2 separate regions of the Homo sapiens genome follow, and region 2 is linked to region 1. Evidence: promoter capture Hi-C in human tissues and cell types (Jung and others, 2019). All regions are on one chromosome and are shown on one strand. Each heading gives the region's core, a stretch centred on a gene start or on the middle of the fragment in contact. The rest is flanking DNA. Distances are from core to core; before and after follow the strand shown.

Region 1 (5,486 bases), core at 1,486-3,985:
ATACTGAATATATCAATGGGCTAGAGTGTATTATAGTACATATGGGTATGTTGTTTTCCCCCTTTTGACTAAATAAACTCTCCCCTCTCTGCAACAGGTAAATTTCCAGTTTACCTTTTTCTTGCTGTTTTTAATTTTTTTTATTTTGAAGGCTTTGTATCTTTATATCTCAGCTGAAAATATTACATTCTAACTCCCCAAAGCTATTCTCACATTATTTGCAAGTATTTTTTCATAGTTTACATGTTTGTGTATTTGTTTAATACATTCCACAAGACTGAAAGTCTTGGTGAGGGCAGGAACTCTGTCTAGGTTGTTCATCTGGCAGCCAGCAAACCCAAAATAAGTATTAGTTGAATGAATAGCTAAATAGATGAGCCATGGGGTAGCATATCTGTTTTAGCTACTGCTTGCCTGTTATCATCCTGGGATGCTGCTTGCTTCTCCGTGATCTCTTCTTGTTCTTAAATTGTCTTCAGTTGTAGTACTAAGTACTAATTTGATCTGTAATGTGATATGTGGCTGAAGTTTGCTCTGTAAAATCACCGTTTCCTGAGGTATATTCAATATCTTTAATTTTTCCATAAATCTCTTCAAGGTTTGTGTGTGTTTTCTTTTAAATTATCTAACTAGTTGGATGTATGCTTGAAGTGCTAGACAATAAAAGTTTCAATAGGCTAGAAATGTTTCTTTTTGTAAAATTATTTTAAGAAACTAGATGATGGTTGTCACTTGAAGCTGAAATGCAAATGTAGCTAGTTTTTTTTAAAGAATAATTCAAATAGGTCATTAAAGATTACTATGAGCACACTGCATATTCAAATCAGTTTGAATATGTTTTGAGACTTCTAATAGTTTATGATTCTTGACATTTTAATGAGCACACTGCATATTCAAATCAGTTTGAATATGTTTTGAGACTTCTAATAGTTTATGATTCTTGACATTTTAAAAGTTTATTATAAAGAATATAAAACATCTTTACCCTCATTTTTTATGTCATTACCTTCATGCAAAGAATACCTCAGGTATTAATTCTGGTGCTGTTGGTAACTAGAACTGGTTGGGTTTTCTTGCTAAAAGGAAGTTTAAAAAATGTTTATTTTACACCATTAATGCAATTAGCTTTAGTTCTCAGAGGAACTAAAAGTGGAAAAGTGAGGGAGACTGATCGACCCTATCTCAAATCCACTGACGTAGCTACTTTAATTTCATAGTCCCTGTAGCACCTCCACCAGAGGGCAGAAAGTGGAAGAGAAAGAAGATGAAATAGAAACTTGTACTTGGCCTCAGAATGCCTGTAGAAACCTTAGCAATTGAATCCAGCCCTTATGTTATAGGCTGAGTTAACTGTGGCCCAGAAAGACTATGTGATTTGCTCACAGTTCTTGATTCCCAGACTGGCACTGCGGTGATGGTGTGTGATGAGGTAGTATCTTAGTAAGAACACAATCCAGAAGTCACTGCCTCGGGGGAATCCCAGCTCAGCTTCTTGCTAGCTTGCGTAGGCTGGTTACTTCACTTCAGCTCCCTGAATCTGCTTTCTTATCTCTAAAATAAAAATAATAGCTTCTTCCTCAGAGTAGTTGGTGGAACTGAAAGAATACATGTAAAGTGCTTAGTATGACACCTGCCACATAATATGAACTGAATTATTGTGAATTATGATAAATTTGTCAGATACTGGTTTACAAATCGGATGTTAGAATAACATGGAATCAGTGTTTCAGTCATTTTACTATACATATGCAATATTTTCTACATTTGATCTCACTTCAGAAACAAAATACTGCCCCCCCCATTTTACAAATGCATATTTTTTTCTCAGCAATAATGTTCAAGAACAAGTGCTTGGCCCATATTTTGTTGTCTTTACATGGCTTTCTTTAAATAATGGGGATGGATTTATTAAATAACCTCATGAGTAATTTTCAAAATTTCCATTAAGATCTTGATTGAAATTGGATGAAAAATCATTTCTAAGAAAAACCCAATGAAGTGTTTTTCTTTGCCACATTTGACAATTGCCTTGGACTTGGTAAAGTAATCATTACTGTGTTGAGTACCTCCAGTGCCCTCCTTGACGCTGCCTTAGAAAAGGTAGCTGCTTTTGAATGACAGGCAGGAATTTGTTCGCCTTTTAGGTTCAGCCTGTAGGTGCCCTCTGCAGGAAATCAGGAACTAGGGTTTTGGAAGCAGTCAGGGTGGGGTTCTCCCTTGTCCCTGCAGCCTCAGCAAAGACTCAGGCAGTCTGGCAAAAGCAGTTTCTTCAGCATACCTAACAGAACGCAAGTTTCCATATGCCTGATGCAAATAATGGCCTCCAAACGTTAAACCTTTTTTGAGATAAACTTGTTCTTTAATTGCCAGCGCCTGCAGTTAATTTTGATTGGCTACACTCTGGTTAAAAGAAAATGCTTTCGATGTGATATGGCAAATTTGGAGAAAAGTAACTCTTTTGCTCCCAACCAGTCTTCCACAACTTAAACTTAATCGTCCTGTCCTTTTCTGCTGCCCTCGTGGAGTGTAAGTTTTTGAGGGAGACCAGCAGAAACTGACTTTCCATATGCCCCTGAAGAATAACTTCTTTGAATGCAAAGAGGTGGGGACACGGAGGATCTGTCATTACGGGTTATTATGGGTGGGACCCAGAGACGGGAGTGAAGGGAGGGTGTGGCCCGCGGGTGGGATCTGTAGAGCAGACAAAATATGGGGCCCCTGGCGCTTAAAGTTCAGTTTGTCTCTCTTGAGCTTGGAGAAAATCATCCGTAGTGCCTCCCCGGGGGACACGTAGAGGAGAGAAAAGCGACCAAGATAAAAGTGGACAGAAGAATAAGCGAGACTTTTTATCCATGAAACAGTCTCCTGCCCTCGCTCCGGAAGAGCGCTGCCGCAGAGCCGGGTCCCCAAAGCCGGTAAGATCGATGATTCGCTGTCCTACCGCAGCCAGGTGTGATGGCCTCTTAGTCCCGGTGAATTCAGGGTCAGCCCCTCCCGCCCCCGTCCTCTCCTCCGCCCGATGCCACCTCCTTCCCCAGCCGCCGGTGAGCTCCCGCTCTGACAGTTCCGCGCTCAGCGCCCTGCACCCAGTTCCCAGGCGCACGGCCCTGGTCCCGACCACCACCCCGGTCGCCCGGCGTCCGAGACCCTCCCAGGGTCATGGGCAGGGTTTCCTTCAGTGTTCGAGTCGGCTCGATCCGGAGACCCCGGTCTCCATGCCGGGGGTGATGCCACCTTTCCTGCAGAGTCCCTCCTCCGCACGGTGCCCTCCAAGCATCTAGTGGACTTGGCTGCACACTGGCGGCAGGGGAGGCTGCAGGTGGAGCTGTCGGAGCCAGCCCCTCGGGGATCTACAGCTTCCTGTCTGCGCCGGCGTCTCGGGCGCCGGGTGGCTGGAGGGACTGTGCAGCAGTCTTGCCTGCCCCAGACGTAAGCCCCCTTCCCCAGCTGCGAGCGCCTGGGTGTCGGTCCCTCCACAGCCCGGGCTCGCGCTTGGTTCCCCGGCCCCCAGTTGGTGCCTGGGGATCACTCGCCCGTCCTAAGTGCTGGCATCCCAGAACTGGCCCTCTTGCAGAGTGCTGGGAACTTGTAGGTCCCTGCGTGCAAACTTTCTCCGGCGTGAACCTGCCTAGGCACAGGAGGGCTGGCCGCCGGGGGCGCAGGCTCTGCGCTGTAGGATTTGGTTGGCTCAGATCCAGTCCTGGGAAGGGGCAGCGTTGGCTCTCGTTCAGGAGGAGAAAGAAAGGGAAGGGCACCACGGACAGTCCCTACTGGCCTGAGCCCCCAGGAAGAAGGTCTAATTTGCGGCTGCCCCTCTCCTTCGGTGTCATTAGGGCCCCGGAATCCGCTTGCTACCGCGAGGGTCCCAGCTGCTCCGAATCGGGGACCGACCGGTGACGCTAGCTGCAGGCAGAGAGGGCAGGCTGTGCGGGCGGAAGGGAGGTGGTGTCTTGTCGGATCTTACTGGGACCCAGTTCCTGAGCTCCCGTGGCAGGCGCCTCACTCCTGCTACTACCTGCTCGGGGCCAGTGGATGGCAGTGTACGCGCTTTTTGCACGGCTCCCGGTTCCTGGGACCGAGCCCTGGGAGCTCTGACTTTGAATTCAGCAGGGAAGCTTCGGGGCTGGGCATTCCCAGGGAAGCTGTTCGAGTAATTCATAAAGTGGAGCTTTCCTCCCGCGGGAAACTTCTGAGAACGATGCGCTGCGAAGACGGACTCCTGTACAAGACTTCGATGACTGACATAGGCACAATTGTGGCTTCTAGTTTTTATTTTAACTTTTTATTTAAAGTAACTTATCGATGGAAGCGAAACTCTGCAAAGGAACGTCAGACCGCTACCAGAAAGGGGGTGAAGTCAGGACTTACTGGTGATTATTGTCCAAGGACACATTTAAGCAGATAGTTTTGAAATTAATTTTGGCATAACCCTGAGACAATGAGAAGAAACAATGCATTTATAAAAAGTTATTAAACCATTTTTTTTTGTCACAGTCAAAACATTCATTAGCTTGTTTCTATTATTAGGTGCCCAATAGGTTTGTTGTGTGAGATTGTGCTAAAAATTGGTCCTCAGATCCTGGGACTTGAGAGGTTAGAGGAGGTTCCTGGGGCTTGCGAGGTTAGAGGAGATGTCTGCATAGACTCACGTGTGGGCTTGGCTGACCAGGCAGGTTTTCCATAGAATGCTTTCCAGGACACCAAGAATTTCAATAGGATGAACTATTTTGGGGTTATTTGGGTGTGGAAACACATCAACCTCAAAACCCCAAGATTCTATAAGGCATTTTTTAAGGGGGAGGGGACTCTTTCCAGAAAGTTCCTTTCAGGGTAGGCTTACAGGACCAACGATGAAAGCCTCTGTTAACCTTCCTGTGGGTTAAAAAGACACACCAAGAATTGCTCTATTAACCTTATCAAGCACATATCCAGGTACAGAGACACTTTCTTAAAAGATGCAAAATTCATTCCATCAGAAACCTTCCTCATAATGCTGCAGAAATCACAATAGCAACAGCATAGAAGGCAGGCATCAGTGCTTCCGCATCTTGCATTCCACAACCAGCTGTGGTTTCCTTTTGGAAGGGTCACATTCTCCACCATAGCTTCATGTGGATTTCAGCAGTTGCTAGTTCTATTGACTGGCCAGCCCCTCTGTTGACCTCCCCCACTGTTGGGGGCAGACAGGAAGTTAGAGGAGAAGCTGAGTGGCCCAGGAGCTTCAGAGAGTCACTTTCAAAAGCCTGTACTTTCAAATCTCCATACTGTTAATGAGGTACTCCTTTCCTTATTTTTCCTCTTTTCCGCACTTGTAGCCTCTTTCAACACAAAGACTTGTGGTCTTAGGGTTTCTGAGTGTCCCCACTGCTGGGGTAATAAGAGCTCTCTGAGGAGCAGGAGAGCCGCAACACTGAATTGTTGCTGAGCGTATCTGAGGGGGAAAGGTTTGTTTGACCTGCTACTTCTACCTAATAAGTTATTCAACA
Region 2 (5,486 bases), core at 2,026-4,525, 270 kb after region 1:
ACACACACACACACACACACACACACACGTGCGCACAAATAGGACACTCCCACTTCCTTCCTTCTCCTCTCATTTCCTCTTCTTTCCCTTTTTTTCCCTCGGTCTCCTGCCTCAAGATCTTTAGGTCCTTCATTCAAATCCTTAGTAGCTTCTTCAGAGTCAGAATTTACGCAGCCATTGCAGGACTAAAATATATATTCCTGTGATTTTAGATAAGCTCTATTTTTAACAAGTGAATAATACAGCTAAAATTACCCAGGAAAATGCCATAATACTCACCTAGTAAAAAAAAATCAATGAATAGATAGGTAAACTTCCTGTCTCCCACTCCTCAGCTAGCCACACACAGCCTCACTCTGCCACAGAGAATTTACCATGGAGAATGCTGCCTTTGGATGGGCAGGTCAAGGCCACAGAACTTGGGTGCACAATATCCACTCACCTGCATGCCTTCTTGACCTGAGACCCCTATCCCAATGTCTGCCACTTGTATCATGCTAACATCATTGGCACCATCACCTTCATGAGGCAGAAAAAAAGGAGAGAAACATATGAGGAGTAAAGAAAGGGTGTAAATGTTGCAAATCAATAGGGGCAGCTCAAGTGAACAAATAAATCCTTCAAAGTTCATCCCGTTCTCCAAGTTTCCTGGAAGTAAGTGAAACAGAAATGAAGTGGCATCCCACTGCCATCAGGAAGAATTCCAAACTCAACACCGCTTTAAACTCCTTCACGCTATGGCACCTACCCAGACTGATCTTGTTTTTCATGTCATTCATGCTACTTTCAACTCTCCAGATACACCCTTCTCCCTGTAGCCACGCACATGATAACAACACTGTCCTGATCACCCCCAGCTCATTTTTCTGGATTTCAATTTTTCTTGCTCTCAGCTTAGATGTCATTTCCTCTGGGAAATCCTTCTCATACTTTTTTTAAAGATCAGATGCCCTTTCATAAGGCTTCAGCACCACCCTATGTATCTCTAGCACACCTATCACACAGTATCATGGTTGCATACAGACTTACTGGTCTCCCCCAACACAGGAAGCTTCTTAGGAGGAGGTACCACATTCCTGCTGGTAATGAACAACTGATCACCAACAATTCACCTGTTTTTCAGTAAAGGTATACTGGTTTTCCTTGGAAATTCTTAGTTTATGTGGTTTGTTAGGGTGAACCCAAACCTCCATATTTATAGGTAAGCAAGTGTCCCAGATCTGTACAATCAGCATCTTCTATTCCCTGGCCTCAGTAATTGGTTCAGAAATGGACATATGACTCCAATTAATTAATATTATTATAAGTTATAATATAATTGTTATATATTACATAATGCATGATATAAATTATAAGTATTATATATAATGTATATGATAAATATAATTATAATGTAATAAATTATAATATAATTATGTTATAATTATGTTATCTATAATTATAAATCCAGGAGTTTTTGCTTTGGAAACATCTGGATCCATAAGCTTGAATAATTCATTTATTTATCTGTTTATTCAACAAGATAATTGAACAAAATTCCACCTTAATCCTGAAACTTTACTGCAGCAATCTGAAAAGTGATGCTATCTTTTCACCCAAGTTGTTAATAGGATAGGATGGAAACCCAGGAGTTTTAGTGGCTACATCACCACCCTGAGGGGAAAATTTACCTGAGACTGGAAGCAGTCCAGAGGGAAAACAGACATAGAAAGAGAGAGCTGATATGCCAAGTCCTCAGTTTAACACTGGAGTCTCTGAGATCTTAATCTCATACTACAATTCTCTTCAGTTATACTCATTCTTTGGTGTCAAGGCTTTGATATCCACTAGACTCTTTTTTTCTTTTCTTTTATTTCTCTTTTTTTTTTTTGAGACAGAATCTTGCTCTGTCTCCTAGGCTGTAATTCAGTGGCATAATCTCAGCTCACTGCAACCTCCGCTTCCCGGGTGCAAGTGACTATTTGCCTCAGCTTCCCTAGCAGCTGGGATTACAGGATCCCACCACCAGGCCTGGCCAAGTTTCGTGTTTGTAGTAGAGGTGGAGTTTCACCATGTTGGCCAGGCTGATCTCGAACTCCTGACCTCAAGTGATCCACCCACCTCAGCCTCCCAAAGTGCTGGGATTACAGGCGTGAGCCACTGTACCTGGCCTGATACCCACTAGACTTCTGATTCTCAAATTTATATCTCTAGCCAATTTCTTATTCCTAAATTCCAGACTTTTATTCTCACTTCCTACCTGACATCACTGCTTAGATATTTAATGGCCTTTTCAAACTTCACATGAGTAAGACCCAATTCCCAATTTCCCCTGCCTCTATCTCAGTAAATGGCAGCTCTGTTCTTTCTGTTCTTAGACATAACTTTGGCGTTCCCTATGACAACTCTTTCTCTCATATAACATATCCAATATGCCAGCAAATGTCTCTGGGTCTTTTTTCAGACCATGCCCATTTTTCATCTGACCACGTCCCAACCCTTCCTTTGCTCCCAGCTGTGCCCAAGCTGCCATCATCTCTTGCTGAATTATTCCAACTGATTTCATATGTCTTTGCAGTCCAACAATTACTCTGACAGAACAGCCAACATGATCATTTTAAATTTAAGGCAAATCATGTCCCACTCCAGCTCAAAATCCTTCAATGGCTCCCTAATTTTATAATGTCCTCTAAGACCCTATGTGATCTGGCCCTCTGCTGCTTCTCTGGCCTTTAATAACCCGCAGAAAACACCTCCCTTTGCTTAATCGGCTTTGTCCTCCGACACACCAAACACGGTTCCCCTCATGGCTTTCATTTTCACTGTCTTCTCTTCCAGAAATGTTCTTCTCCATGTCTCCCATGGCCCCTTTATGATTTCCTTCACATCTCTGCTCACAGTCAACCTTAGCAGTGAGACCTTCTTTGAAAATCGTATTTAAAAGAGCAGCCCCAGCCCATCTCCAGTGCTCTACGTGTCCTCATTCCACTTTATTTTTTCAATAGTACTTATCACTACCTGATACCTTACAGATTTATGCTTTGTTTTACTGCATGCCTTCCTACTAGATGTAAGTTCCTTGTAAAAAGGTAGTTTGCCAATTTTATATACTCTTGTATCTCCATTCCTTAGAAAAATGCCTGGTACAAAAAAGGCACTTGATAAATACTTGTGGAATGGATAAAGAAATGAATTCTCATGTCCTTGAATTTAGCTTTCCTGAAGGTAGAACACATGGATTTTTCAGTTCTGTGATTCAGTTTATTACTTGATTTAAGCTTGTTGATTTGGGGGTCTGACACTGAACTAAGAAGTCTGGACTACTGTATTGTTTACCATGTCACATCCCTATTACCTGGTTCACAGAAGGTGCTCAAATAGGTGATGGAGGAAGGTGCTCAAATAGGTGATGGGAAGGCATGAATGTGGTAGAGAAAAAGGGAGGAGGAAAATGGAAGGAACAGTGGGAGAAGAAAGAGACAGAAGGATCGGTGTCTGGTGTGGTGTGAAAGGGAGAAGAGCAGGACTCAGATTCATCCTCACTCACCAATAGCAAGGGTCATCACCTGGAGATGGCTGCGGACCAATTTCACCACTTCACTTTTCTGCAGCGGTGTGGCTCGGCAGCAGACCACAGCTTGACACCAAGATGTCAGTTCCAGGAACTGCTTTTGCAGACTTTCTTGCAGGGCAAACTCCAGGGTCTTCCCAGTGATAATGAGTCCAGCTCGTAACCCTGAGTCCCGGGGGACAGGAGGCTGAAGTAAATCTTCACTTAATGACACTTGCTCTGGCAGGGCTTGAGTTTTCTTCTGAAGTTCTTTCAAAATTGTGCTCATCAGCATCCCACAGGCATCCTTGAAACAAGAGGCAAAGGTGGTTAGCCTCCAGGCGCCCTTGGTGTCAGAACCAGTTACATTTTTTATTGTCATTTTTTAGCAATTGCTGAATCAAGAAAACCTCAAATAATGAATAACTGATTATTTTCAAAGATTTTACGAGTCTTCCACAGAGAGTTCTGTGTGTATGTGGGGATGGGTTAAAAGGAGGGGGAACATCTCACCAGTATTTCTTATAAAGAAATAGCTGTGAAATTTCTTCATGTGTGCAATTTGCCTTCTTGAACAGTGAATCCCAAGAGTCCTCTGGTCTCATTCTGCCAATTATTAGCTGCTTGACCTTGGGCAAACTATGTAACCTCTCTAAGCCTTAACTTTCTCATTAAAAATATGCAAATATTATTTCCATCATAATCTTGTTGTGAGGATTAAGCAAAATAATACAGGCAAAACTCCTAGTGTAAGGCATGACACATGGCAGGCATTTGAAATAGTAATTATTGCTTTTATCTTCTTTTTGATTCAACGTATTCATTCACTCACTAACTATTTAATGAGAAACTATATATTAGAAAACATTCTAAGAGCTGGAGCTACACCAATAAACATGAAAATTCCTGCCCTCATGGCACTTGCATTCTGGCCAGGATGTTCTTTGTGGTACTTATCACGTCTCCTTTGCATACATCCTCACTCCACACTAGTTAGGAAGTTCTTTAAAGGCAGTTATCACTTTTAATTTACTTTTGAAGTCTTCATGAGGCTTAAAAGAGGATCACATCAGGTACTCAGTAAACATTCACTGAATGAATTCTACTCAAGAAGATGAACAATAAGCTTATCCAGAAATTACTGTGTCAAGTGATCACTAAGAACAAATTCCAAATCCAGAGCAGTGAATTTAAGTTTAGTTTATACACTAAGTCTGAAATAGTTTATTCGTGAAAGAGCTCTCACTCAAAGCTTGTTTGCTTTGATTTTAAATGCTGTTTTATCAAGCATTTCTCAACCTACAACAAAATAAGAAAAGCAAGGAAGAAGTAGATATGGACATGTGCACATGAAACAGCACAAAAACTATAAACACTCTTGTGGAGTGTTCACAGGGCTCCATTTTAGGAATGAATTTGATCCCATACACCTCCAAAGCCCTTAAGGCAAAGTATACAAAGATGAATCAGATATGCTCATACAGCTCATTACATCATAGTAAAAATTATTTTTAAAACTCTTTTGGAGTTTGGTTAAATTAAAATGGCACATTTAGAAAGTAACATGCCTCGCAATCATTGAAAACATTAACATCAGATTGTGTTTAAGGTATTGTAATTGAAAGAATACAGCTGCAATACCATACAATAACATAAATATAGTCTTTGTGGCACCAATATGCTTACAGTATACAGAATACAGTCTGTGTGGATATTCTCCAAAATATGATTTTAAATTGTAGTTTTATGATTATAAATTGATTATAAAGGGTTTTGTACTCTTCTATTTATTTGAGTATGTGTTTAGGTTTTACAAATTAACTATTTTTTTCATTATAAAAATAACAGAAGTATGCATACACACACACAGCTAATCTTCATTATCTGTGGATTCCACATTTGTGAATTCTCCTACTTGATAAAATTTATCTGTAATTTCACAATACTTGAGATGTTT

What was found. The method cuts DNA at HindIII sites, captures the fragments that hold promoters and counts their contacts. A contact is called where the count stands out against the background at its distance.
Region 2: a contact is called between a fragment that was not itself captured here and the fragment with the promoter of CORIN in region 1, in 1 of the 25 tissues and cell types used here (IMR-90 fibroblasts).

Annotation. Positions count from the first base shown.
Region 1 is chr4:47,835,316-47,840,801 of GRCh38, reverse strand. CORIN (corin, serine peptidase) reads left to right here and starts at 2,735. Exons shown (of 22, transcript NM_006587.4): 1 at 2,735-2,915. The coding sequence starts at 2,853. All of the region lies in intron 1 of LOC101927179 (a long non-coding RNA gene), which reads right to left. The HindIII fragment of the contact is 9,769 bases long and covers 1-5,486 here.
Region 2 is chr4:47,567,187-47,572,672 of GRCh38, reverse strand. It overlaps ATP10D (ATPase phospholipid transporting 10D (putative)), which reads right to left. Exons shown (of 23, transcript NM_020453.4): 16 at 3,527-3,836; 17 at 443-519. Among named protein-coding and RNA genes, the nearest start is that of MIR8053, 83 kb to the left of the region's middle. The HindIII fragment of the contact is 4,014 bases long and covers 1,269-5,282 here.